2 separate regions of the Homo sapiens genome follow, and region 2 is linked to region 1. Evidence: promoter capture Hi-C in 16 types of primary human blood cells and fetal thymus (Javierre and others, 2016). All regions are on one chromosome and are shown on one strand. Each heading gives the region's core, a stretch centred on a gene start or on the middle of the fragment in contact. The rest is flanking DNA. Distances are from core to core; before and after follow the strand shown.

What was found. The method cuts DNA at HindIII sites, captures the fragments that hold promoters and counts their contacts. A CHiCAGO score of 5 or more calls a contact.
Region 2: a contact is called between a fragment that was not itself captured here and the fragment with the promoter of TMEM106A in region 1, in 3 of 17 cell types (endothelial precursors, megakaryocytes and M1 macrophages). The highest score is 8.3, in endothelial precursors.

The regions. Positions count from the first base shown.
Region 1 is chr17:43,210,379-43,213,838 of GRCh38, forward strand. It overlaps TMEM106A (transmembrane protein 106A), which reads left to right and starts at 1,497. Exons shown (of 9, transcript NM_145041.4): 1 at 1,497-1,544; 2 at 1,849-2,016; 3 at 2,643-2,874; 4 at 3,450-3,460. The coding sequence starts at 2,664. NBR1 (NBR1 autophagy cargo receptor) reads left to right here. Exons shown (of 21, transcript NM_005899.5): 21 at 1-1,310. The HindIII fragment of the contact is 182 bases long and covers 1,471-1,652 here.
Region 2 is chr17:43,044,150-43,046,944 of GRCh38, forward strand. It overlaps BRCA1 (BRCA1 DNA repair associated), which reads right to left. Exons shown (of 23, transcript NM_007294.4): 23 at 146-1,653. The coding sequence ends at 1,529. Among named protein-coding and RNA genes, the nearest start is that of RND2, 20 kb to the left of the region's middle. The HindIII fragment of the contact is 9,714 bases long and covers 1-2,795 here.

The DNA of each region.
Region 1 (3,460 bases), core at 247-2,746:
CTTTTATTGAAACTGAGTATTTTTCTTTGGCTAATGTGGATTTTTTATGGGGATATCTGTTAATTTTCAGGTTTTGAAAGACATTAACCTCGGAAGTTGTTTTTAAGAATTATTCTCATAATTCTTATTCTCATAATTTCTGTAATCCACCTCAAGCTTCATAGTTATTTGGCATTGAAATAACACCCAGAGCATGATAGAAATGTTGTTACTCTTCCTCTCTCAAGGAGAAAGTAATTTTCCTGCAATACTTAATAATTGGCACCGTTGCTTTCTAAAGACTCCATGGTGCATTCAAGAGTATCCAACTTCAAGGGAATCTCCGCATTTCAATGAAAGGAGGAAGAGTGTGCTGATAAACCTACCAGCACCTATTGAGCAATGTCTATTATAGTAATTTTGCATACATTTTTATTTAAGGGAAAAAATATAGGTATTGTGAAATATTTTGCTAATCTTATAGAAAAGGAAAAAATCCCGTTATTTAAAGGGAAAAGTAAATTTAACAGTTGCCTTTTTTCTTAATGTCAGGGCAGATCTTATTTTACAGTACAGTGGGGGAAATAGAAACATGTGAAAGGCAAAAGGCAGGCTCCTAAATTAATGTCAGTGAAGTTCAGGGTGGGCAAATGAGTGTGTGTGAGGTATAGGAAATGCTGATGACTTCTTTAATGCTTGAAGTCCGTTCACAGGTATCTAGCCCTAGAATGCCTAGAACAGGAAGAGGCAGCTGGTGTTCTGCAAAACTTGGACAGGGGCAAAGTTGCTGAAAAAGTTTTGGTTTAACCCGAAGATAAGTGGAAAAGAGCTTGTCCATGAACCCAGGTTCTCACTCTGTTTACAGAAGTGTGTTGAGTACAGTTGGTGAAGGAAGAGGTAACAAAAAATGCTAAATATTTTATCCATGAAAATGACTTCCAGAAAAGGAAGAATATGAACCCCAGACCGAAGGGGAAAAGATAGTTAATAGTATTATCTAACCTGGTTGGTATTTGTAATGAATGGTGATTTTAATTAGTCATTAGCCATAATGATGTTTATTTACAGTATAACTCCTGAATGCTACTTAAATAAACCAGGATTCAAACTGCAAGCCAGCCAGGCCGTTCATTATTTAAAACGTTTTAATCGGGGCTTCCGGGTAGAAGGTGGAGCGGCAGGGTGTAATTGGGTTGATGGGTGGGACCTGTCTTGACCATCGGAGTTTTATAATCGAGGGCCAGGAGGGCCCGGGTTGCTCTCCTGGTTATGTATGTACTTGTACATAACCACCTAAAGAATGGTGAAATAAATGTTCTTGGAAATTCCTACCCGGACTGGCTAGTCCTTGCGGAAGCAGCGTCCGGGCCCTCGGGTAACGTTTGAAGAGCTGGCAGCGTCTCAGGCTGCTGCGTGGCGAAGGGGCGGACCGGGGGACGGGGGGGTGGGCCCTTAGGGGCTGGGGCGGGACTTCCCTGGGCACTGAGTCAAAGCTTGAGGGGAGTGTTCGCTCCCGCATTTTCGATTCCACTCTCTTCCGTTTCTGTCGCTGCAGTCGTCCGCGGGTAAGGCCCTCCCTAGACCCTTTATACCTACTTTACCTTTCGGAGGTCAAGACACCTCCTGTTGCCGCCTCCTCGCCCAACACACAGGCGCCCCCCGCACGGGTACCAAGCTTGACTAACGGCCTCTAGGGGTGTGTGGTGGGACTTGAAATCCTCCCTTAATGAAGTCACACCTTCTCCGTCCGCTTCCACCCGGTCGGCCCATGGCAGAGCCCCCATGTAGCCCAGGAATCGGCTTGGCCCTTCGGGGAGGTCAGCGTCCTTACTATCCCCACTCTCCAGTGCGGCACATTCGTTCCCCTAGGACTCCGGCCGGTTGCCGGCCCCAGGCGGTGCTTCTCCCCACCACCGCCCAGCTCAGCTCAGCCCAGCCCAGCCCACTCTGCCCTTAGAGGCCCTTCTCCCCAAAGACGCACTCCAGAAGTCTCGCCCTCGTGCGGCTGAGGAGCCTGGGATCCCAGACCTGAACAAGGTGAGCATCCCTATATTTTAGCCCAGAAAGATCTGTGTGGCTCACTTGCCGGCCTCGTTCTGTCACACAGAGTCCAGATTTAGCCTTGAGTTTTCCTAGTGAAAGACAGACCCTGGTATCACTATGACCCTCCTCAGGCTTTCTTACCCCGCCTCAGAAAGCAGTGAGGTGTCTGCTTTCTCCCAGGGCTTCTTTAGATAGGGGTCTTAACCACACCTGTGACCAGTCTGGCCTCCTCTCTCCTTGATTCAAAGAATCTCTTTTCTGCCCTATCCAACTTCCTTCCCTTAAACTGAATGACAGCTCAGCAACTTTTCCAGAGAAAAATTAAATGCTCTGACAATCACTTATGGAAGTTCCTTAAAGTGAAGTAACTTCTGCTTTTCTTTTGTTTTCCCTTTTGTAGGCAGATTGGTCTCTTTTAAAATAATGAAAGGAGTCGAAATGCATTGAGACTTCTGAGAGTCCCATGTGACCACCCAGTTTTTCACATCCTATCTTCCTTAGGCTTGAGCTTGCTTAAACTGTGGTGAAGCTCCTTGCCAGTCTTGAGAACTTCAAACCAAAATTACATCTGGCGTCAGTGCTAACAAGCTTAGCACTGAACTTTGGTCTTTTCTCATTAGTGAAACCCCCGCCCCTGAAGAATGGGTAAGACGTTTTCCCAGCTGGGCTCTTGGCGGGAGGATGAGAACAAGTCAATCCTGTCCTCCAAACCAGCCATTGGCAGCAAGGCTGTCAACTACTCCAGCACCGGTAGCAGCAAGTCTTTTTGTTCCTGTGTGCCTTGTGAAGGAACTGCTGATGCCAGCTTCGTGACTTGTCCCACCTGCCAGGGCAGTGGCAAGATTCCCCAAGGTGAGTGGCCCAAGGCTCTGGAAATAGCCTGGAATCCAGGGAAAGTTCTTAGCCTGTTGGCCTGGGGCAGCCCCTCTGAGTCTCCTTGGATGGGGTTAGATCTGCTCCCAGCTCTTGACCTCCCAGTCTCAGGCTGGCCAGGGAGATACTTAACTATCCTTGGGTTCCCTGCAAAAACCTGCCCTCCTTCCCTGGTTGTATTCTCCAGCCCCTTGTGGGAAAGAAGGATTCTAGCCACTGTGCTTCTGAGCAACACTGTGTGTCCTAGGATTCATTCAGTTCAGGAAGTTACAAATGAACTTTCCAAAGATGCTGGGCATCTCTGATTTGCTGGTGACTTTCAGAGATTCTTCATACCTATTAGTGGAAATCTCACTTCCATTCTAGAGATGGCAAAGCTGAGCTGCCAACTTTGGTAGCAGAGTCCAGTGCTTCCAGTCCTGCTCTGGGGCAGATGTGGCATGTTTCTAACATTGCTCTATGGTGTGGGTGGAGGCGTGCTTCTGGGAAGCTGGCACAGTAAATATTTGTCACAGTTGCATCTTGGCCCTCCCTCTCACCTTCTCTCTCTCTAGAGCTGGAGAAG
Region 2 (2,795 bases), core at 1-2,500, 170 kb before region 1:
ATACAAAAGGTATTTAAGCTGCCTCAATAAATCCTAGGAGGTAGATACTATCATTACCCCCATTTTACAGAGTGGGAGACTGAAGCACAGTGAAAAGGCTCTGAGAAAGTCGGCTGGCCTAAGTCTCAAGAACAGTCATTCATGGTGGAAGTGTTTGCTACCAAGTTTATTTGCAGTGTTAACAGCACAACATTTACAAAACGTATTTTGTACAATCAAGTCTTCACTGCCCTTGCACACTGGGGGGGCTAGGGAAGACCTAGTCCTTCCAACAGCTATAAACAGTCCTGGATAATGGGTTTATGAAAAACACTTTTTCTTCCTTCAGCAAGCAAAATTATTTATGAAGCTGTATGGTTTCAGCAACAGGGAGCAAAGGAAAAAAATCACCTCAAAGAAAGCAACAGCTTCCTTCCTGGTGGGATCTGTCATTTTATAGATATGAAATATTCATGCCAGAGGTCTTATATTTTAAGAGGAATGGATTATATACCAGAGCTACAACAATAAACATTTTACTTATTACTAATGAGGAATTAGAAGACTGTCTTTGGAAACCGGTTCTTGAAAATCTTCTGCTGTTTTAGAACACATTCTTTAGAAATCTAGCAAATATATCTCAGACTTTTAGAAATCTCTTCTAGTTTCATTTTCCTTTTTTTTTTTTTTTTTTTGAGCCACAGTCTCACTGTCACCCAGGCTGGAGTGCCGTGGTATGATCTTGGCTCACTGCAACCTCCACCTCCCGGGCTGAAGTGATTCTCCTGCCTTAGCCACCTGAGTAGCTGGGATTACAGGTGTCCACCACCATGACCGGCTAATTTCTGTATTTTTAGTAGAGATGGGGTTTCACCATGTTGGCCAGGCTGGTTTCGAACTCCTGACCTCCAGTGATCTGCCCACCTTGGCCTCCCAAAGTGCTGGGATTACAGGCGTGAGCCACCATGCCCAGGTTTCAAGTTTCCTTTTCATTTCTAATACCTGCCTCAGAATTTCCTCCCCAATGTTCCACTCCAACATTTGAGAACTGCCCAAGGACTATTCTGACTTTAAGTCACATAATCGATCCCAAGCACTCTCCTTCCATTGAAGGGTCTGACTCTCTGCCTTTGTGAACACAGGGTTTTAGAGAAGTAAACTTAGGGAAACCAGCTATTCTCTTGAGGCCAAGCCACTCTGTGCTTCCAGCCCTAAGCCAACAACAGCCTGAATAGAAAGAATAGGGCTGATAAATAATGAATCAGCATCTTGCTCAATTGGTGGCGTTTAAATGGTTTTAAAATCTTCTCAGGTGAAAAATTACCATAATTTTGTGCTCATGGCAGATTTCCAAGGGAGACTTCAAGCAGAAAATCTTTAAGGGACCCTTGCATAGCCAGAAGTCCTTTTCAGGCTGATGTACATAAAATATTTAGTAGCCAGGACAGTAGAAGGACTGAAGAGTGAGAGGAGCTCCCAGGGCCTGGAAAGGCCACTTTGTAAGCTCATTCTTGGGGTCCTGTGGCTCTGTACCTGTGGCTGGCTGCAGTCAGTAGTGGCTGTGGGGGATCTGGGGTATCAGGTAGGTGTCCAGCTCCTGGCACTGGTAGAGTGCTACACTGTCCAACACCCACTCTCGGGTCACCACAGGTGCCTCACACATCTGCCCAATTGCTGGAGACAGAGAACACAAGCAGAGATTAGTGTCAATTCATTCTCCTGGACTAGGCTCTAATCAATCGACTCCAGGGTCCTGGTTGTATGAGTTCTTAGGATTAATGAGGTAGAAGCTAATTTTTTTTTTTTTTTTTTGAGACGGAGTCTTGCTCTGTCGCCGAGGCTAGAGTGTGATGGCGCAATCTCGGCTCATTCAACCTCCGCCTCCTGGGTTCAAGCAATTCTCCTGTCTCTGCCTCCTGAGTAGCTGGAATTACAGGCACATGCCATCACACCCAGCTAATTTTTGTATTTTTAGTAGAGACGGGGGTTTCACAATGTTGGCCAGGCTGCTCTGGAACTCCTGACCTCAGGTGATCCACCCACCTTGGCCTCCCAAAGTGCTGGGATTACAGGCGTGAGCCACTGCACCTGGCCTTTTTTTTTTTTTTTTTTTTTTTTTGAGACGGAGTCTTGCTCTTGTTGCTCAGCCTGGAATGCAATGGCACGATCTCAGCTCACTGCAACCTCCACCTCCCGGGTTCAAGCAATTCTCCTGCCTCAGCCTCCCAAGTAGCAGGGATTACAGGTGCCTGCCACCATGCCAGGCTAATTGTTTTTTCTTTTTTTTCAGATGGAGTCTCACTCTGTCACTCAGGCTGGATTGTGATGGTGTGATCTCAGCTCACTGCAACCTCAACATCCTGGGTTCAAGCGATTCTCCTGCCTCAGTCTCCCAAGTAGCTGGGACTACAAGTGCGTGCCACCATGCCTGGCTAATTTTTTTTAGTATTTTTAGTAGAGATGGGGTTTCGCCATATTGGCCAGGCTGGTCTCAAACTCCTGATGTCAGGTGATCCGCCCTGAGGCTGAGGCAGGAGAATCATTTAAACCCAGGAGGCGGAGGTTGCAGTGAGCCAAGACTGGGCCACTGCACTCCAGCCTGCTAAGTGACAGAGTGAGACTCCACCTCAAAAAAAAAAAAAAAAGGCAATGCTTCAGGACATAAGGCCTTGCTCTGAAGAGGCCCTAGGAGTGACTCCTGGTGACAGTGAAAGCCCACAGCCTCTGGCAACTGTATTAACATGAACTTCAATCTGTTAAAGGAAAGCCACCAGGAAAACAGCACTGTAATTTAACGATGTGGAAAAATGTATGTA